5 separate regions of the Homo sapiens genome follow, and regions 1, 2, 3 and 5 are each linked to region 4. The links are contacts of gene promoters, found by promoter capture Hi-C in blood cells and fetal thymus (Javierre and others, 2016). All regions are on one chromosome and are shown on one strand. The core of a region is centred on a gene start or on the middle of the fragment in contact, and the rest is flanking DNA. Distances in the headings are between cores, read along the strand shown.

Region 1 (4,427 bases), core at 1,206-3,705, 610 kb before region 4:
CTGACTATGGAATAGTAGTAAGGTGCTGGGGACAGGGACTTCTGTGAAGCTCTGGCTCTGATTCTCAAATGCCAGCTTGAGATCTGAAACTGACCTGGGATGGCATTTTTCTTGATCTTGGTAATAGAAGAGAAAAAAAGGACATATTAAGAAGTTTTTCATAAAGTTAACTTTGTTCAATTTGAAGGACCACTTTTTCTATGCTGAGATCTGTCCTTCCTACTTTTTGTATGTATTAAAATATCCTTTTAAAAATAGTATATATATATATATTTGACATGGAGCTTCCCTCTTTTGCCCAGGCTGGAGTGCAGTGGCGCAGTCGTGGCTTACTACAACTTCCGCCTCCTCGGTCCAAGTGATTCTCCTGTCTCAGCCTCCCAAGTAGCTGGGATTACAGGCGCCCACTACCATGCAGGCTAATTTTTGTATTTTCAGTAGAGACGGGGTTTCACCATGTTGGTCAGGCTGGTCTCGAACTCCTGATTTCAGGTGATCCACCCACCTTGGCCTCCCAAAGTGCTAGGATTTCAGGCGTGAGCCACCACGCTTGGCCAAAATAGTATTTTTTTGAGACAGAGTCTCGCTCTGTCGCCCAGGCTGGAGTGCAGTGGCGCAATCTCAGCTCACTGCAACCTCCACCTCCCAGGTTCAAGCAATTCTCCTGCCTCAGCCTACCAAGTAGCTGGGATTACTGGCACAGGCCACCATGCTTAGTTAATTTTTGTATTTTTAGTAGAGACGGGGTTTCATCATGTTGTCCAGGCTGGTCTCGAGCTCCTGGCCTCAAGCGATCCACCTGCCTTGACCTCTCAAAGTGCTGGGAGTACAGGTGTGAGCCACCATGCCTGGACTCTCCCCTCACTTTTAGTGTCCAACTCCTTCATTAAGAAGCCTTACATTTTAGCCCCCTCATCCTGCACTAGTTGAGAAGGTGATTTGCCAGCCATGCTCCCACTTCTTCATTCCCTGGCCACAGACTAAACCTTGCTGTGGGTGATGCTCACTTTCAGTTGTGTATTGGCTCTGCAGCAATGAAGGAGGAAAGACCCCATCTTTTGGGGCCCTCAAGTTTACCGGTAACAAAAGGATAAATTTTTGTTGTTTTGAGCCACCCACTTCATGGTGGTTTATTACAGCAGCCCCAGGAAACTAATAAGCTTAGGAGTCTAGACCACTAGATGTGGCAGGGAGTAGAGGGAAAAAGGGCAAGATTTCTAGGGACTGATGGAGTCTCCTAAAACCTCTCTACAATGGGGCGGAAAAAAGAAAAGAATATCCATGCTGCTTCTTCACGGTATAATTAATGAATGTAAGTATGGAGGAATCATTATCTGGAGAATACTTTTCTCTTTTTAGTCACGGAAGAATCAGAATAAATGTTTTGGGATGGCGTAGGAAAATAGATTTTTGTTAGATAGGAATCTTTTTTATCTTTTGTTTTTTTTGAGATGGAGTCTTGCTCAGTAGCCCAGGCTGGAGTGCCATGGCCCAATCTCAGCTCACTGCAACCTCTGCCTCCCAGGTTCATGCGATTCTCCCGCCTCAGCCTCCCGAGTAACTGGGATTACAGGCACGAGCCATCACGCCTGGCTAATTTTTGTATTTTTGTAGAGACAGGGTTTCGCCATGTTGGCCAGGCTGGTCTGGAACTCCTGACCTCAGGTGATCCACCCGCCTTGGCCTCCCAAAGTGCTCTTATTACAGGCATGAGCCACTGTGCCTGTCCTAGATAAGAATCTTGATGCAAACAGGTATTAGGTGCTTGTGTGAGGTTAGAATCCAAAATATGTTTCTAAAAAGCTAGGTATAAATTAATTTTTAAAATTAATATATTTTAAATGTATTCATATTATAAGAGTACTTAAAACAATTGTATGATGATTTCATTCATAAGGGAAAGAATAAATGAGACTTTGAGAAGAAATATTTATACTCTAATATGTAATTTGTATATATAGATTTTCATGTTTCCTGTTTGCCCCAAACAAAAATTATCTGTACAACGGAAGAGAATAGGTTGATTTTAATTGAAGATTTTTTATTAAATGCCAATGCCTATAAATAGGCTTCATTAGATCAGGTATTTTTGTCTATACTGTTTACTTAGGATGAATGATACCTACACTTAAACGTTCAATAAGTAGTCGGGTGCAGTGGCTTACGCCTGTAATCCCAGCACTTTGGGAGACCGAGATGGGTGGATCACCTGAGGTCAGGAGTTTGAGACCAGCCTGGCCAACATGGTGAAACCCCATCTCTACTAAAAAAAAAAATACAAAAATTAGCTGGGTGTGGTGGCAGGCGCCAGTAATCCCAGCTGCTCAGGAGGCTGAGGCAGGAGAATCACTTGAGCGCCGGAGGCGGAGCTTGCAGTGAGCGGAGATTGCGCCACTGTACTCCAGCCTGGGTGACAAGAGCGAGATTCCATCTCAAAAAAAAAAAAAGTTCAATAAGTACTTGTTGAATGAATGTCCCAGGTAATTTACATTATTAGGGTATTGGGGTGGGTTTACGCCGCCTGTATTTCTGTTCTAAAACTTAATTGTTGCCACGTATGGAACATCTGTTTACTTTGGTGAGGCAGGATGTGAGAAATAAGAACAAGACAAAGAATTATGGGATTAAAAAGGGTGCACTAAAATCTGAAAAGCTATCAAGCCGTATCTATAAAACAGATTACCTAAAATGATAGTAGCAATCCAAGCTCTTGATTGAATTCAGATTGTAAATTTTATGAGGGAGGGGTAAGACTTCAGAGAGACCATAAGGTCTCATCCTGCCAGTGAACAGGGAACATATTAATTCAGTTTGGCCACCTGGGGCCCATTTAGTGCACTAGAGCAGTAATTTGCTAAATGGGTCCCTCATAGTAAAAAAGAATGAGTAAACAGTGAACAATTTAGGCATGGTAAACCACTAGTAGCTCAAGGGATATAAAAATGTGAAACTATAATTAGATCCCTTGTTCATAATGTAGGAACTAAATGTATTACATTGTATATTGCATCTTTCTGAGTTTATTTCTGGACACAGCTGAGCCCTTAACAACTCAGACTGAAATCATCCCAGCTATCAATTTATGCCTCTATTAAAATTCCAACTGCTTATATTAGAAAATAAACCTCCAAAGATGACTTCTTTTATCTTAGTTCTAAGGATTCAAACAGAATTAACCTAGATGCAGATCATAGCAAGTCAGTTATAAATCACACAGCATAAAGTAAACTGTGGCAATAAATTGAAAATTGTGTTCTCCTTTTCTAAACTTAGATGTGAAAATATTTTAACAAGTTGGCATCAGGATTCACAACTTTTGCATCTGATGTTTCTTTTCAGGATTATCTTTTAGCATTTCAAAATGGGATTCTTTGGAAAGTGTGGTTAGTCAGAAATGTGGTATTAGAACGTACATTTGGAACACTTTAAAGGGGGGCATTCATGATGTATGTGGTTTTAGGATACTGGTGTATTCCCCACTCCACTTTCAAGTAGGAGAAGCTGCCATTTCATGGGTGTCTGGAACACATTTGTCTTTTATTGAAATCTTTTTCTTATTTGGAGAAATTGTATAGAGTGCATTGGCACAGATGGTCTGGGTGATGTTTCCCGATACTAGCAAGCTCTAAGTACAAGTTTCATTGCCCTTTATCAATTTGTTCTTTCAACTACAAGGATCCAGTTGATCTGGCGGTAAGGGATTGTTTATTCTTCAGGAGCTCTCATTTTCTTTCTGTTTCTTCTCTTACCCCAAGCTTAGTAACATCACTGGGGGCTTGGGTCAGAACAAGGGAAGGATTACACAGTGGACCCCGGCCCTTTTGCTCTCCCCTTAGCTCTGATTTACATTATTCTGCATACAATGGAATATGTCATCTTCAGATGATGGACTCTATGCATGAAATCCAGGAAAATTGTATTTTAGGTCCCCACCCCTCCAAACACTGTTTTTATGAGGTAGGAATGTATTTCCTTCTTCGTTATGCTGAGGTACTGTAACAATATTCATCCTGTTCATTTCCTGCCTCCTCCCGACACCACTTAGTATTAGGTATCCCAGTACCAAGCCCCTATCTGCCAGGAGTGTATGATGGCTCTCCAGTCCCCATTTCCCCATTATTTGGATACTAAATCCTCTGAGCAATGTCTTTATTTTTTTTTTGAGACAGAATTTCTCTCTTGTTGCTCAGGCTGGAGGAGTGCAATGGCGCAATCGCGGCTCACTGAGTCCTCCGCCTCCTGAGTGGCTGAAATTACAGGCACCCGCCACCACGCCCGGCTAATTTTTTGTATTTTCAGTGGAGGCGGGGTTTCGCCATGTTGGCCAGGCTGGTCTCCAACTCCTGGCCTGAGGTGATCCGCCCGCCTTGGCCTCCCAAAATGCTGGGATTACAGGCGTAAGCCACTGCGCCCAACCTGAGCAATGT
Region 2 (4,162 bases), core at 384-2,883, 710 kb before region 4:
GGGGTGGGGAGTTTTGCTAGCAAGGCAAGTGGGATGTATTTCCATCCATGTCACACAGAGCTGACAGAAGCTAGGCGATTCCAGGGGGAAATGTCCTTACTTCCTTCCGAATGGCCTGGCTGCAGCTTAAGTGCACAGAGGAGTGGTTCCTAGACCCACTCTCAATCCTGGGTCTGGGTCTGGCTGGGTCTGGCTGCTTCTGCAGGCTTCTTGCTGTCAGGTCTCTCTGGTGTCAGAAATCTCCTGCCCTGCTGCCACCTTATGGAGTTAGGATGCCAGACAGACTGGCAGGGAAGCAGCCCCATGGGGGGTTGAACCCTGCCTCTCTACTCTGTTCTCTGCATGGTATCAGGGTGGCCCCGAGGGAGTGCAGAAGTGCCAGCCTTCCGCGGAGGGGAAGCCCTTTTTTGCCTGATCTTCTACATAAGCTTCTCCTAAGTGCTAGAGTCAGGCATAACCCCAAGGAAAGTTTCAAGGAGACGAGTGGTTCCAGCATGCAATGCTGCAGAGAGCTCAAGGAAAGCATTTAGTGGATGTCATAACTAGGAGGTCGTCAAGACGGGGAAGCTGCAGAGAACACCTGGGCACTGCTCCTTTGGGGATCTTAGCTGAGAGGCCTTCCTGTTGGCAAGAGAGGGGGTAGGAAGGACCTACTCTCCTGCCTACTCCAGTGGGCAGGCTTTCACATGAGAAGGAAAGAGGAAATGTAATTATTTCTGAGACTGAAGAGATCAGGTGGCATGGTATTAATGATTAGGGAACAAGACTGTCATACACATCACGACAGTTCGTCAGTTCCAACTTCCCTCATGTGAATGACAGCTGACATTCACACTTGCAGGACCAGGAGCCAATAATAACTACAAAGTGGCAAGTGGCTCTGTCCCTTCTGCCGCCACTAAAGAAAGCATCTCAAAATGCAAGCGTGTGGTAGTGACTTCATTGTAGAGACACTTGAATCACCTCTAGTTTATTAATATATTATAATAAACCAAAGAATGGTCCTTTCACTCTTAGTCACAAAGTACTTGCACCATGCCTCTCAATAACATAAACCAACAAAAAACTCAGTGAGATTCAAGACTCATAGTTCAACTAACACCCCTGCCATACTCACTCTTCCTTCTTAAAAAAATATCAATGCCAACAACTTACAGAAAAATCTCATCAATACTAAACAGCTGTTCCTTTCCTAAAAAGTCTCTTTGGATATAAATTGGTATCTCCATCAGCTTACAAGGTTGTAATCAGTATGTACATATAATTTCATGTTCTACTTTTCTTCACTAAATATTTCATCTACACATTCTCATTTACTGGTGTACTCTCACGATGTCTAGGGGCTAAAAAGATTTTATTAATTAATGTTTTCCCATTGTGGAGTATTGGTTGTTTCCCATTGTTCATTTTACAGTGCTGCAATTGATTTTTTTATAGAAAAGAAAATCAATGTTTTGTGTTTTCATTTTGAGGTACGTTTTCCCAAGTGAAACTATTGGATCAAAGGGTCTAAAGTGTTTGATGCCCTCTCACATAGTGTCAGATTCCTTTTCTATAAGAATACGCAAGCCGGGCATGGTGGCTCATGCCTATAATCCCAGCACTTTGGGAGGCCGAGACAGGTGGATCACCTAAGATCAGGAGTTCAAGACCAGCCTGGCCAACATGATGAAACTCTGTCTGTACTAAAAATACAAAATTAGCCAGGCGTGGTGGCACATGCCTGTAATCCCAGCTACGCAGGAGGCTGAGGCATGAGAATTGCTTGAACCCAAGGGTTGGAAGTTTCAGTGAACCAAGAGCGCACCACTGCACTCCAGCCTGGGTGACAGAGTGAGACTCTGTCTCAAAAAAAAAAAAAATAAATAAAGAATACATCTATTGTTAGTACCACTAGCAATATATGAATATCCAGTCCCCTTCATGTCAAATGGATTTTTTTTTCTTTTTTTTCTTTTTTTTTTTTTTTGAGATGGAGTCTTGCTCTGTCACCCAGGCTGGAGTGCAGTGGTGCAATCTCGGCTCACTGCAAGCTCTGCCTCCCGGGTTCACGCCATTCTCCTGCCTCAGCCTCCCAAGTAGCTGGGACTACAGGTGTCCACCACCACGCCCGGCTAATTTTTTGTATTTTTAATAGAGATGGGGTTTCACCATGTTAGCCAGGATGGTCTCAATCTCCTGACCTCGTGATCCACCCGCCGGATTTTTTTCTTTCTTTTGTTTTTCTTCTCCTTTTTTTTTTTTGGTTTCATAGATATGCAATATTTCTCAAAAGAATTGTTTTAAATCTGTATTTCTGAAGTTGAATTTAGGGGAGAGCCTGTGCCCCTGATGCCACCCTAAAGTGTCAGAGCCTCTTCACCCCGACAGTCTCCTTGCACACACATGTGTATGAACCGAAAGAGGGAAGTTTCTTCAAGACCCAGGCCCAGACAGCCAGCTCACACACGCATGTGACTGGTTTAAAGGGAAGTGCATAGCTGCTCTGGAGCATGGCACGGCAACCATTAGTTTAGTACCTGGCAAAGGGTAGACGATCCAGAAGTAGGCGCTGAGCTAGCTGCTTCGTGGAGCCTGAAGGAGAGTGTGATGCTGTGAGCGCTTCCTCCCCGAAGCTGCATAGCAACTACACATGCCTCCTGAACAGCTTTTCTTACCCCATCTTCTGTTCTAAGTATGGCAACTACATGTCCTAAATCTGCTAACATTTCAAACAGGTGGTCCAGTTGTCCCCAGAAAGTGCACTCATTCTTTTGAGACCACATGTCCCAAATTTGGACTGGGGACATGTGGTCACTACTATTTTGATGTATTGGTCTCCCACACTCCACTAGAACGCAAGCTTATTAAGAGTAAGGACTGTCTTATTCATCATTCCAAACCTGTATCATCCCTTTTCTACAACCTACACCATCCTTTAATTATAAAGTTGGTTCTACTTGCTCTCTTGTCACTTAGAGAGTTGCTATTCTTTGAAAATACAGATCCTAAAATAGCTCCATCTCTTTTCTCTCTTCCAAACTGTGTGTGTGTGTGAAAATGGGTTCCAAAAATATAATTTTCTTTAATGTGTTATAAGTAGCAATAGAGAAGCAAAAGGCAATAATATGCCCAGTAAGCATTGCCTACCAAACTAATTCTGAATACTTTATTATCCTGCTGACAACTGAAGAACGGTATTTGAAAGTCAAAAATTTCACTGCTTTCACACAGTATACAAATTGAAGCTCACGTGGCCAATGAAAGATATTAGCCAGAGGCGTCAGTTATATAAAGAGTTTCAGCACAGTGCTATAAATGCGTAGCTCTCAATAAATATTATAAAGATGAAAATACTAAACACGCTTTTTTTTTTTTTTGAGACGGAGTCTCGCTCTGTCGCACAGGCTGGAGTGCAGTGGCGCAATCTCAGCTCACTGCAAGCTGCACCTCCCGGGTTCACACCATTCTCCTGCCTCAGCCTCCCGAGTAGCTGGCACTACAGGTGCCCGCCACCACGCCCAGCTAATTTTTTGTATTTTTAGTAGAGACGGGGTTTCACCGTGTTAGCCAGGATGGTCTCGATCTCTTGACCTCATGATCCGCCCGCCTCAGCCTCCCAAAGTGCTGGGATTACAGGTGTGAGCCACCATGCCCAGCCTAAACACGCTTTTATAAATGACATACTAGTATAGCATATCCATACAGCAAATCCTCTAGAGTATCAGAATAATTCTGGCAAATGCTTTGATTCTAAACTCTCCACATTCCACTGACTTCAACAGAGATCCCAGCACCTAACATTGTCTTCCAGACTCCTCCTACTGCTATGACAGGAGCCTGAAAGACTGATGGGAGTCAGACTTGTTGAACTGGCACAGTCTTCAATATGCGAGGAGACCACAGCATCCTCGACCTAGAGCTCAAATCCAAGCTTTGGCGACTGGACCAAAACATCTAGATGGTTAGGTGAGGGTGAAGGGGATGGCTAATCATTTCTAGAATGGTAAGTTTCACTTGGTAGGAATTGTCTTTCATTCACCAGCAGGGTTTTTAATTCTCCCCCAAAGAATTTAAATGACAAATTCAAGATAAATGAGGAAAGTGTCCTTTGGAAAATAAACATCTACCATCAGTCCCATTTGTGGGTTCCCAGGGCAGCTGGTACGAATCAAGGGGAATA
Region 3 (4,605 bases), core at 1,926-4,425, 810 kb before region 4:
AAATTTGTCCAATCGCTGCCTGAGTACCTATGTGTTCGTGGCTTGATTTACCTTATCTGTAATTCCTGGATGTTAAAAGGACACCAAAAATCTCTGACACCCTGATTAGCCTACCTTGAAGAACCCAAGCCCAGGATTTCTGCCTTTGCCTAGAAAAAGGACTGATTCAGAACTTCCTGAGCTACCTAGTATTCTGGCCATAAAGTGGAGGAAAGGAATCTATAATCCCATTTTCTTCTTTTCATTCATAGCTTATTCTCAGTTCTGCAAAAATCCAAACTGCCCCAGGGCTCATGGGACAACATAAACTAGAAAGTTTGTGGGAAAGATTTAAACTGGCCACCAAGTGGTTAGACACTCGCCAGACCTGACGGCACTTGGCGGGGTTGGGGGCAGGGGCGGGGGTGGGGAAGATCCAACAATTTGGACAATCACATACTTCAGACACGAAATCACTAAAATGTTTAAACTCTAAAAACTGTCTACTTGAAATTTAAATCCTTGATGCCTCCTCCATATTTGAAATTATATTCTTTTTTATTCAGAAATTATGCCCAATTTTGATGATTTGGAAAACAGAAAAAAAGTAGAAAGAAAAAGACAAAAATCTAAATGGCAATCCAGGCACTAAAACTCATCTTAGCATTTTGGTATATTCCCTCTCATTTCTTCTTTCTACTCATATTTTTGTGTATCATTTTGACTATGTCATATATACAATTTTATATGCTGATTGTTTCCACTTATTGTATTTCCCTGTGTTGATACAAATTTTACCAACTATATTTTTACTAGATACATATTCTCTCATACATATATAAAAATATATATTATATAACTATATATAAATTATAAATTTATATTATATATTTAAATTTAAATTATACATGTTATATAAAACATATAATTTTATATATACATGAGAGAATATTACATATCTAGTAAAAATGTAGTTAGTAAAATTTGTATCAACACAGGGAAATACAAGTGGAAACAATCAGCATATAAAATATTGTGTGTGTATGTATACGTATATATAATGTATTTGCTCATTCACTTTTTTGGGAACAACAATATTACTGATATCCTATTATAAACATGTTTACATACAAAGCTTTTTATTTTTCTGCTTTAGGATTGTTTCCTTAAGTTAAACTCCCCAAAATAGGTGCACTAAAAGGTATGAAAAGTTTTAAGATTCTTGATACATATTGTTAGGTTACTTTACAAGATAGTTGTAACAGTTTACTTTCTAAAAAGGCTGTTTAATGTAAACATTTCTGGTAAAATCACTACTTAAAGTTGTGTGAAGCCAATACTCTGTTAAAAGCAGCCTGTCACACATCTAATTTGTACCAAAAGAAGTCCTTTATTTTACTAATGCCTCTGCAAGGTTTATAGCAGTTCACCAATATGACCACATTTGGACTTTAAAACCAAGCTTTAATCAGTAATGTATTTGACACACAGGCATAAAGAGAAGTATATATATAATGTGGTCCATATCCCGTAGAATAGACAAGAATTCCACATAGAAAGAGTTGCTGGGGAAATCTGGTTGCTGAACTAGGTGGTAAGTGCTACAGTAGTTCAGAGGGAGATGGCACCCGTATGGACTGAAATGGTTGGGGAAGACAGGTTATTGTCTTCTGGAAGTGGTGGAACCTGACAATGAAGAATGGTGGGCCTTAGACACACAGAAGGCTGAGAAGAGCCTTCTAGACCAGGAGAACAGCATTCACAAGGATGTTTATCATAGCGTTGGAAAATGAGGTGACTGGACTAAAATTTCCAATTGTTATGGACTATATTTGTACCCTAAATTCTGATGTGATGAGTATCACTTGAGGCTAGGAGTTGAGGCCAGCCTGGGCAACATAGAGAGACCCCCATCTCTAGAAAATAATAAAATAAAATAAAATAAATAATAAATTCCGATGTGCCATTTCCTGATTTGCATTCAAATAACTCAGTCCTAGGCCAGGAGTGATGGCTCATACCTGTAAGCCCAGCACTTTGGGAGGCCAAGGTGGCCATGAGTTTGAGACCAGCCCGGCCAACATGGTGAAACCCCGTATCTACTAAGAATACAAACATTAGTTGGGCATGGTGGCGCGTGCCTGTAATCCCAGCTACTTGGGAGGCTGAGGCAGGAGAATTGCTTTAACCAGTGAGCCAAGATCGCACCACTGCACTCCAGCCTGGGCAACAGAGCAAGACTCTGTCTCAAAAGAAAAAAAGAAAAGAACTATTTGTGTCTTGCATACCTAAGTATATTTAAAGAAAATTTACAAATATAATCATATAAATTCAGCTTTTTCTTGAACCCTTACTATGTAGAAGTCACCCTGCTAAATTTTATAAGGAATACAAGAAACAATAAGGAGAAGGATGTACCCCCAAGTAAATCACAATTTAACCGAGAAAATATGATATACTTGTGCATCTCTGCACGATGGGAATATGTTCTGAGAAGTGCATCATTACGTGACTTCACTGTTGTGCAAACATCATAGAGTATACTTATACAAACCTAGGTTAACTGAAACATTGTTATACAGTGCATGACTGCATAGAAACACATATCTACCAGTGCAAAATTATTTGTCACAACTTTTACATAGCTTCTATTACCTAATCAGTGTCTTACAAAGAGTGGGCACTCAATATTTATTTGCGAAATAAATGAAGGAAGGAGGAAAAGACCATTTCCAGGTGGAAGAGCCGGGGAAGAGTCCTGGAACCAGCCGTGATTCAAGCTGGGTTCTCAAGCGTGGTTAAGATTTAAAAGAATTGGGAAGAGATGAGAAACACTGCAGACAAGAAATGCAACAGAAACGTAAAGTATCTATTCTTGGCAAGTGAGATAAACATGTTCTCTGATTGCTAAAAATTAACTTTCCAAAATAGATAAATGTGTTATAACCAGGCACATAGCATAAAATAGCATACACATAGCATAACATGAGCCTACACACACACAAAGCAAAAAGTTAACAGTGCCCTCCACCAAGAGATAATTTTAGGACAAGAGAAAAAATATATCCTAAAAGATAGCATTGAAAAGTAAATAAATTATATTCCAAAGGAAAAAAAAACCAGAAACAAAGGTGTAAAAGATTTTCCCCAATCTTAATGCTTTAAACTAGAATAGTAAGGGATGGAAAATATACCATTTCCTGAAATTTCTAAGAGATTTTAGTGATTGGGATCAATAGTAGCAAAACATTGGTGGATGCCAATTCTCTCCTGTGTAAAAGATATGTAAGTTCAGTTCTGAGTGATTGCACAAGGGTAAAGGTATTGCAAGCGTTCACAGATCACTCACTCTGCACATAATACCTTTGCCCCAAATAACCATTTGCACCTTTTATACAGTAAAAGAATTACAGCCATTCTTTTAGTAACTAGTCCCTAAAACATAAAGGCTTTCTTTCCTCTTTCAAGAATTCTAAACCATGAGACATGTACTATACATATTGAACACATAAAGAGATGAGAACACATGTAAAGATGCAGAACACATGTAGAGTTTTTGTTATAGTTTTTTCTCTCTTCAAAGCATTTGTATTTTTTGAATGAAAGAGGGCCCAATCATTACTTAATCCAAATCCTGAAACCTGTAGGTAGATATACAGTAACTAAGGCATAAAGAAGAGCAGATCTATTCACTGACTGGGAGTTGAAAAAAAAAAGAACAGGAGACAGGGGAAGTGTTTACCATGAGTTGTGGTAAATGAATCTATATATTCTATTACAAGGTTTCTACATTTTGCATAAAGTGGAAACAACATTAAAGTTACTGTGAAAAGTTAAGAATGTCTATTGCACCCCTATAGAAACCACTTACAAAAAATACGGAAGGATTGCCAGAATGCCTGAGGAAGAAGCATGGCAAATCCTTTCCCCAAAAAGCAATGATAAAATTTGACAAAATTATCAAAAACAACCATGTCAGTACACTGTAAATTGACCAAAGTCATACAACAACTTGAAAGGAAATTATTTTGAAAAAAAATCACTAAACTTTAGTAAGCTCAGTGGAGGTCTGTGGTGTTTTACCCCGGGGCTGTTCCTATCTACCCTTTTCCCATAGCTTCATCGTGTGGTAGTTCTACCAGGACAGAGCAGGTCATGGGAGGTAGCTGGCAGAAGGGGCTGCGTTCATTTGTACCAGAGCTTGAAAAAAACCTATGCCCAGGAGCACTGTCAAAAACAATAGGGATCTCAGTGGTAAACAATCAGGGAAGTCCAGTATTGCAGCTAGCCTGAGGTTGCAACACTGTTTAGGGTAAACAACATACCAGCAGACCAACCAGAAATTTAACAGTGTGATCTGGGGACTGAGACAGCCACAGTAGGCACTGATAAGCTCTCACATATCCCTGGGGGTCTGGAAGACTGCCTGCATATGCATAATTGTGCATATGCTCAGGAGAGGCCAGAGATGGCTTTAGCTAGCTATGTAGCTGACTGAATATGAGGCTTTATGATACAGATACTAAAATCAGCGTAGACTTGGCCCGGGATGGTGGCTCATGCCTGTAATTCTAGCATTTTGGGAGGCCAAGGCAGGAGGATCATTTGAGGTCAGGAGCTTGAGAC
Region 4 (4,093 bases), core at 1,420-3,919:
CTAGCACAGTACGAGAAAAAGATCATCTCACAAATGTTCTTCAAAGCCACAGGTATCAATCACTTCAACTAAAGTAAGGGTAAGATAATCCACAGCTAAGAATCAATTCTTCTACACTTTACATAGATACCTAGATGCAAATTTTTTTCAGCCGACCACAAAATTAGGTCCACTCTGAGTGGTGAAAAACAAAAGATTCTAACATTCTAGCAAACTGGTAAACCATACACAAATTATAGAATACAAAGAATGCAGCCGATGCAAATTCTGTCACTGACAAGGTAGCAAAGCCATAGCCTGATACTCCTCAGGACACCTCATCACGCCCACTGGGAACATGGCACACACTGGAGATTCCAGTCCAAGGACTTTGGAATGTCAACTTAGCTCTTTACAAACACAACTAAGTTTTTCAGGGAAAAAGACTTACATTGGTTTTCCTCTTTTGGAAAATTTTACCGATTGATGATGCCCTTGGTCTTCTGTGGAGTCTATTCTTCTAATCGGGTTGTTCTCCAATTTTAGTGTACAACGGGCTTGTTTCAGGGGAGCTTGTTTGGGATGCAGACTGTCAAGACCCAACCTGGTATCTGGTTCATAAGCAGTCCCTGAAACCTCCCTCCGGTTCCAACAAGCTGCTCAAGCCAGGAAACGGTGGTCCTGGGGACTCCTGGACCTTCAGCTTGAGAAACACTGAAGGGGTACCATTTACCACCACATCCTACTGGATTACAAACGCTAGATCTTTGGATCTCCACGACTAGCAAGCAAGTTAAAGACTTTTAGATGGCAGGCGTTATCGGTCAGGTTGGGAGTGAACGCTTTGTCCAGAGGAGGAGGTAGGGACGCCGGGAAGCAACAACTCTGATTTTATTTCGCCGGCTCCACAGCCTCCCATTGCCCCAGGAGCCCACCCGCACTCCAACCCCCGCATCTCGGACCTGTGGCCTCAGCCCAGACTCACATCACCAAGTGCACCTACCCAGCCTCCGTTATCCTGGATCCAGGTGTGCAGGTGCCGGTTCAGGTACTCAGTCATCCACAGGGCGATGTTGTCCACCAGGGGCGACATCTCCCGGTTGACGCTCTCCACACACATGACCCCACCGAACTCAAAGAAGGCCACAATCCTCCCCCAGTTCACCCCGTCCCTGAAGAGCTCCTCCACCACCGTGGCAAAGCGTCCCCGCGCGGTGAAGGGCGTCAGGTGCAGCTGGCTGGACATCTCGGCGAAGTCGCGGCGGTAGCGGCGGGAGAAGTCGTCGCCGGCCTGGCGGAGGGTCAGGTGGACCACAGGTGGCACCGGGCTGAGCGCAGGCCCCGCGGCGGCGCCGGGGGCAGCCGGGGTCTGCAGCGGCGAGGTCCTGGCGACCGGGTCCCGGGATGCGGCTGGATGGGGCGTGTGCCCGGGCTGGGAGGAGAAGATGCCCGGTGCGGGGGCGGCCCCCGGGGGCGCGGCGCCCACATCTCCCGCATCCCACTCGTAGCCCCTCTGCGACAGCTTATAATGGATGTACTTCATCACTATCTCCCGGTTATCGTACCCTGTTCTCCCAGCGTGCGCCATCCTTCCCAGAGGAAAAGCAACGGGGGCCAACGGCACCTCTCGCCCCAGCTCCCACCCCACGGCCCCCAGAGAAAGAAGAGGAGTTATAATCCAGCTATTTTATTGGATGTGCTTTGCATTCTTGGACGAGGGGGTGTCTTCAATCACGCGGAACACTTGATTCTGGTGTTTCCCCCTTGGCATGAGATGCAGGAAATTTTTATTCCAATTCCTTTCGGATCTTTATTTCATGAGGCACGTTATTATTAGTAAGTATTGTTAATATCAGTCTACTTCCTCTGTGATGCTGAAAGGTTAAAGAAAAAACAAACTAATAAGTAAAAAATCAGGTGCGTTTCCCTGTACACACTGAGTGAAAGCAGGGCATACACACTACAAGTAACACGGCTAAAAAGAATGTATTAAGCTGCCTGGAAATTAAATTTACTCGAATGCACTTTAAGTAAAAAATCTCAAAGGTTTCCATTGAAAGTTACATTAAACCAATTTCCTGTGCAGAGAACTTACTTGTATTTTTTAAGTACAGCATGATCCTCTGTCAAGTTTCCTTTTTGTAAAACCAAAACAAATGCATAAGGCAACGATCCCATCAATCTTCAGCACTCTCCAGTTATAGCTGATTTGAAACTTCCCAATGAATCAGGAGTCGCGGGGAGAGGGAGTAAAAATTAGGAGGATTTCCAGATCGATTCCCAGACTTCTGCTTCACAGAAATGTCAATCCGCAGGAATCCCAACCGGAGATCTCAAGAGCTCGAGAAAAAAAAAAGGCAGCGGCGGCGGCAGATGAATTACAATTTTCAGTCCGGTATTCGCAGAAGTCCTGTGATGTTTTCCCCTTCTCGGCAATTTACACGCGCGCACACACGCGCGGGCACAGGCATGAATCTCTATCCACGGGACCGCTTCACGCCTCCCCAGGAGAGAGACAGGGGAGAGGGGACGATGAAGGAGCCGGGGACGGAGGCAGGAATCCTCTTCTGATTAAACTCCGAACAGCAAATGCATTTTCCGAAAAGCTGCTGGATAAATGAAGGCAGGACGCGCCTGGCCCGCCGGTGCCGAGCGCTAGAAGCCCGCGCTGTGTGTGGTGCGGCGAGGGGTGGGGAGAAGGAGGTGGTGGGGGAGGGTTTTATTTTTTCCCTCTTTTCCTAAAAAGGATGACTGCTACGAAGTTCTCCCCCCTGGACCCCCTCTTCCGCTGCACCCCACCGGCGCACCCCGCCTCCGGGCTGCGCACCCTTTCTCCTCCTCCTGGTCCTGCGCGGCGGCGCTGGCTACGGCCGCCTCCCGGAGCTCCCGCCGCGCAGCCCGCTCCGAGCGCTGACGGCCGCCGGCAGGGAGGGCCCGGAGCCCCGGCACCTTCGCTGGCAGCGGCGGCGGCGGCAGCGCGGCGGGGCCACGGAGAGCGGCGGGCGGGAGCGCGGCGGGCGGGCGGGCAGGCGGCGCGGAGGGGCGGGCGCGGGAGGAAGGGGGCGGGAGCGGGGCTGTGGTGCCTGTCCTCTTACTTCATTCTCTGCACAGCCCGACCGGTTTCCTGTGCGTAACGTCACACGGTTCATTCAAAAAAAGAAGAAAGAAAGAGCCCTCCTCTGAGCCACCCGACCGCCCCCTCCGCCCCGCTCCCTGGCCCGGGTTAAAGGCGCCGCGGCAGGCCCGGGAGTGGCGCGTCCCGCCGGGGGCACATGGCGCGCGGGGCCGCGGCCGGGGAGGGCGCGTCCGGGCCGGCCACCCGCCCGCTCCGCTGCGCCCGCGGGGCCCGGCCAGTGGGTGGCGCGGGCGGCACAGGCCTCCCGCGCGGCCGCGGCGCGGTGGGTGTGCGCGGGGCCTTCTGCTCAGGCCTGCGGCAGGCCGCGTGCGGACTTGGTGGTCGCTGGGGTCCGCGACGGGGTGGGGGCTCCCGGGGAACCGCACGCGGCCGGGCCGGGCGGACGACGGAGTGCGGAGGGGGGCGGCTGGCGGGAGGGTGCGCCATGAAAACAAGGGCTGGAAAAGCGCCGGGAACCGCCTGGACCCTTTCTGGCCGTGTGAGTGTGTGTGGAGTGTGTGTGTGTGTGTGTGTGTGTGTGTGTGTCTCGCCTGGACCTTTTCTAGCCGTGTATGTGGGAGTGTGTGTGTCGCCTGGACCCTTTCTAGCCGTGTATGAGAGTGTGTACACGCGCCTACACACACACACGTTGTGTTACCGGCGCTCGGCCGCCGGGGGAAGACCCAGGCCAATGCCGCCCCCCACCGCCCCCAGCAGTGGGACCTCAGCGCTGCCCTGCTGTGAAGACAGGTGACTCTGCACGTTTTAAGCAATGTCTAGGGACGCCCCGAGCGTGGTGTTTACTTTCAAGTAGCTTCCTAGGTGTCCGCGCACTACACACGCACGCGCATCCCCGCCCGTGTCCACCTGAACACCTAGTCCGTGGCCCAGGCCATGCAGAACTCAGCGCTCCAGGGAAGGGGTTTATCAAGGGCTTTACGACAGTTTAAGTCAATGTTTTCCCTCTGTCCCTAACACCTTTTACACTGGTTTAGTGCT
Region 5 (4,163 bases), core at 797-3,296, 730 kb before region 4:
TTCTTAACAGCACCTAGTACTTAACAGCACCATCCATTTGAGCTTGGAAGACATCTTTTTCACTTCTCCATACTGATTGCAAAAGCATTCTAAGGTTAAGGCAGTGAAACCATATGGAGGCAAGCTGTGACAATAGTTCCACCCCATGACACTCCCATAATCTTAAAAGAATAAAAAAATACTGACCCCCCCCTCCACCCAACCCCACCCCACCAAGAGGGAGGGCTCATTGATTTCCAGAGCAGTGAGTTTCGAGGTGTGAGATATGAAGAAATGGGGTCCCTGCCTGGAAACGTAGTCACGACATCTCTACATCTTCTTCTCTTTAGGGGAGGAGACCAGCTGTTAAAGGATGAGGGGCTCTGGGGTCCCAGGGCTGAGAGGCAGGTGTCAGCTCGGGGTGGAGGGAATGTTTTAACTGGAGTGCCCTCGCCCCTTCAGATGACCCTGTGCAGAGAGAGGACAGGCCAGGGCGGACAACCTTGTCTTTCCCTGGATGCTCATTAACGTATTGGCTTGCTCAGGTTGGATTCCTAGGGTCAGAATAACATCATATTTGATGTTACCGCTGCTTACAGATACAGCTGTTGTGCTTGTCCATGCAAAATTTCCCTAATTCCTAAACGCTGTCCTCTGTTGAAAAATGTAAGCCCCCTGAATTGGAACATGGGTACACATCACCTGAGTTCTGTGTGTGTATGCAAATGTTTATCAATTGTGGAAGCTTTGGAATTGGGGGTGGTTTGGGGCTTCCTCTTGTCTGTTCTGTAATGGGGGCACATCACACGTGTGGGGACCGGAGACCCTTCACGCAGTCACCTCCGCCTGCAGAGAATGCGGGCCTTGGTCACCAGAAGCTCTCAATCCCATGATCCGGTTTTGCTCTCTGAAATTTGGCGGTGGGAGTTGTGGTGAGGTGGGGGGTTGGGTGGTTCTTCATTGTTTTTCTTTTTCCTCTTGCAGTTCCAATTTGAGCCGCTGTGAAAAAGGCCTCCACCAGCCTCTCACCAGAAGAGATTGCTCATTGGAACGCAATGCCACCTGGTGGGGGACGAGGACAGTGCGAGCAAGCAGATGTTATTTCCTACTGACCTAATTTAGAGAACATTAAACGTAAGAGAGGGAACATTTGGGGTTGGAAGCCTGTGCCCAAAACCTTAAAGAGTGCAGGCAGCTGGCCATAAAAGCAGCTTGAGCAAACCCCTCATTCAGCCGTTGAAATGTGTGTGTGAACACTTTAAAGGTTTCCTCTGTGCTTTTCCTGCGTGCATTTGGTCATCACAGCTGTGAAGTGGGGTGGGAATGTTTCCCCTCGTTTTCTAGGAGAGAAATTTTGGGTTCAGTGAGACGAAGTGCTGCAGACAGGCCCATGGTGATGCTCAGGCCTCTGCTTGAAGTTGGTGCTCACTTCCTGGCACCACTTCCTGCCCCCACCAGTGCTTCTGGCAGAGCCCAGGGCAGTGGCTTTATGGAACTGTGTAAGGTGATAGGAACCCACAGGTGGAATGGCCGTGTGGCCTCTGGACTGAGGAGGGCTGGACCAGGTTGTGGGCACGCCTGGAACACACGCCACATCCTATCCCATAGCGAGGCCTCTTCCTTGTGGCTCTCGAAGGATTTGAGGACGCGGGAGGGTGAAATGTTTCCAGAGAAATATCCAGGACTTTTAGAACTAGGCTTTCAAAAGCATTTACCTGTCAGATAAATTCAAGTGGCATCAATGCAGATTTTAAATGTGTACAGATATCTCCACTCGCACGCTGAGTTGTGCTTCACACAAGTTTTGCGCACGGAGTATTCCATTAAATCTACTGAAGCAGTGGGGCAAGGAGAAAGGAGAGGTGACTGCTGATGTTTTTAAAGCTCTGACAGTCACATATAGATTGTCCCAGGTACCCCTGCTGCCCCCAAGACACTCCAAAGGCAAAGATGGATGGTGACAAAGTAACCTTCATGCAGAAACAAGAACAGTCACCCCCAACAACAAGCCCTGCTGAAGGTGAAGAATGCCACCAGGCTGCCTGGCAGTTACTGAGTGCTTATTCCTGCTAGCCTATTGGAGTCACGTCATATTTGTTACATGGTAACTTAATTGTGCCTTCCACGCCTTCACAAAATCAGTTGTACAAGAGAAGGCACCCACCACAGTCCATGTGACCTTTCTCGGTCTGATTTACATAGTGGGGATGATGACACTCGCGTTGTAGAGTAGTTGCACGATTAAACCTGGCACACAGACATAAAGCACTCAATGTCTGACACATAGTGGACTCTCAAGAAGTTTGTCATGCAGGGGACACTTGAATGCCCAGTATGGGCCAGACAGCATCAGCTCATTTCAGTCCCACAGCCCTGTGAGGGAGGAACTCTGCCCTGTTTTACAGTTAGGGAAATTGAGGCACAAAGGCTAAGAAGTCGATATCCAAGGGCACAGAATGATTGGGTGACGGTGAGCCCAGGCAGTGTGACAACAAGGTTGCTGCCCCACGCCACCTCTGTCTTTCGTGGGTATGTCGGTGTGAGGTGTAGGCAGCCCTGCACTGGCATTCAGCAGGCGGGACTCCCGGGCAGGCTCTTCTGCGAACACTCATGGGCCACCAGCCCTTTCTGGAACTTGCCTTTTTTTTTTTTTTTTACCTGAAAGCTACGTGAATCGTTGGTAAATTGGTGTAAAAATGGAACTGAGTCATCTCAAAAGTTCCTTTCAGTTCTAAAATTCTGTGAATTGAAGCCTACTTTTTCACTTTAAATGATTTATTGGGTTTACAGTTCTTTACGCTTTCTGATTGAACTGATTTGAAGTTCTTATTTCGTGTGTTGGGGAACACACCCCCAACCCGTCACAGCGTGGCCGTGGGTGGGAGATGGACGTTAGGCTGGCCAGTCACTAGGGGGCAGCATCAGCACGGGTCTGGCTGTCCCTGGCCTTAGGGAGCAGTTTCTGCCCCTCCTGCCCCGTCAGAAAGTCTCGGACTCCTCTCTGCTTGCATGTGTAAAGTTTTCATTTTCAGGGGCCTTTTAGTCAAAAAAAATAAAGCTGTATGACTTAGTGCTGAAGGATATGAATTAGGCGTAGCTCTTGGGTTGGCAGCATAAACCAAGGGGCATCAACCCACCACCGACAAGCTAAGAATGGTTTTTACATCTTTAAATGGTTGAAAAAGGAAAAAGAATGTTTAGTGACACGTGAAAAATACATGAAATTCAAACTTCAGTGTCTACAAATAAAGTGCATTAGCACACGGTCGTCTTGCTTCTCTATGTGTTGTCTGTGGGTGCTTTGTCTTATCCCAGCAAAGTGGAATAACTGGGATGGAGACGCTATGGCCCTCGAAGCCTAAAATATTTACCGTCTGTCCCTTACAGGAAAAGCTTGCCATAATCAGCCTCATCTGAAGAAAGATGCACTTCGCATTATCTTGAAGGTCCTGATTTTCTGGGAGGAGGGACTCGTGCCCTCCTTTTCGGGCTCTGCTTTCTTGGCACAGTCAGTAGTTTCTGGCGCTTAAGAAGGCACAGACGCTAAGTGGGTGCAGTGAGCCCAGGCAGTGCGCGGCACTGAGCGGTTAGGAAGTTGCTGGTTCTTATGCACAGTCATTCAGCAAACCTTGGCTGGGAGCTCAGCCTAGCGAGGGGCATCCTAGCACCAAAGATCAGAAAGAATGGGGAGGGGAATGAGGGAAGGACTTTCAAAGGGCGTGTTTTAGTTGAGCCAAGAAGGAAGAAGTGAGCTTTTCCTTAGTGAAGAGGTGAGAGATGGCAAAGGAAACAGCATCGCCCAAGGTGCTTCTGGGAAGAGTAGCTAATGGAGAGTGCGCTGGGTGGGGGAATGAAAGACTCCAGGTCCTGCTGCAGGAGCTGGGAGGCGGGGTGGTCCAGAGACAGGCAGGGGCAGGCAGGGGCTGCAGGCACCTGCTTCACCGCGGGAGGGAGCCAGGAGAAGTGGGTCCCAGAGGAAAATCTTCCTGTACACGGGCTGCATTAGTGGTACCTGAGGGCATCTGGAAGACCGTGGTTCTCCTTGCAACAGTCACCTAATGGCCTTCAGTGAAAAGACAGACTCCTTGACTCTCTCTTTCCCCAAACACATTCCTACAGAGTGGAAGTTTCCAGAGAAAACAGCCATCAAAGAAGGTTGAGAGTGAGAATTAAGAGACACTGGA

The links. The method cuts DNA at HindIII sites, captures the fragments that hold promoters and counts their contacts. A CHiCAGO score of 5 or more calls a contact.
Region 1: a contact is called between a fragment that was not itself captured here and the fragment with the promoter of BCL2 in region 4, in 3 of 17 cell types (non-activated CD4 T cells, fetal thymus and total B cells). The highest score is 8.0, in non-activated CD4 T cells.
Region 2: a contact is called between a fragment that was not itself captured here and the fragment with the promoter of BCL2 in region 4, in 2 of 17 cell types (M2 macrophages and M1 macrophages). The highest score is 7.6, in M2 macrophages.
Region 3: a contact is called between a fragment that was not itself captured here and the fragment with the promoter of BCL2 in region 4, in 1 of 17 cell types (non-activated CD4 T cells). The highest score is 5.5, in non-activated CD4 T cells.
Region 5: a fragment that was not itself captured here is called in contact with the fragment with the promoter of BCL2 in region 4 in 1 of 17 cell types (fetal thymus); the score reaches 5.7 in fetal thymus.

What each region holds. Positions count from the first base shown.
Region 1 is chr18:62,707,741-62,712,167 of GRCh38, forward strand. No RefSeq gene overlaps it. Among named protein-coding and RNA genes, the nearest start is that of PHLPP1, 5.6 kb to the right of the region's middle. The HindIII fragment of the contact is 2,595 bases long and covers 1,159-3,753 here.
Region 2 is chr18:62,612,187-62,616,348 of GRCh38, forward strand. No RefSeq gene overlaps it. Among named protein-coding and RNA genes, the nearest start is that of ZCCHC2, 91 kb to the left of the region's middle. RefSeq lists an enhancer at 1-100. The HindIII fragment of the contact is 2,414 bases long and covers 427-2,840 here.
Region 3 is chr18:62,506,675-62,511,279 of GRCh38, forward strand. No RefSeq gene overlaps it. Among named protein-coding and RNA genes, the nearest start is that of ZCCHC2, 14 kb to the right of the region's middle. The HindIII fragment of the contact is 3,472 bases long and covers 1,440-4,605 here.
Region 4 is chr18:63,317,100-63,321,192 of GRCh38, forward strand. It overlaps BCL2 (BCL2 apoptosis regulator), which reads right to left and starts at 2,670. Exons shown (of 3, transcript NM_000633.3): 1 at 2,075-2,670; 2 at 983-1,853. The coding sequence starts at 1,567. RefSeq lists an enhancer at 1 and silencers at 1,292-1,531, 2,887-3,076, 3,237-3,446, 3,477-3,546. The HindIII fragment of the contact is 7,545 bases long and covers 1-4,093 here.
Region 5 is chr18:62,583,483-62,587,645 of GRCh38, forward strand. It overlaps a transcript of ZCCHC2 not described here. Among named protein-coding and RNA genes, the nearest start is that of ZCCHC2, 63 kb to the left of the region's middle. RefSeq lists enhancers at 718-777, 2,643-2,822, 2,694-2,988. The HindIII fragment of the contact is 2,648 bases long and covers 723-3,370 here.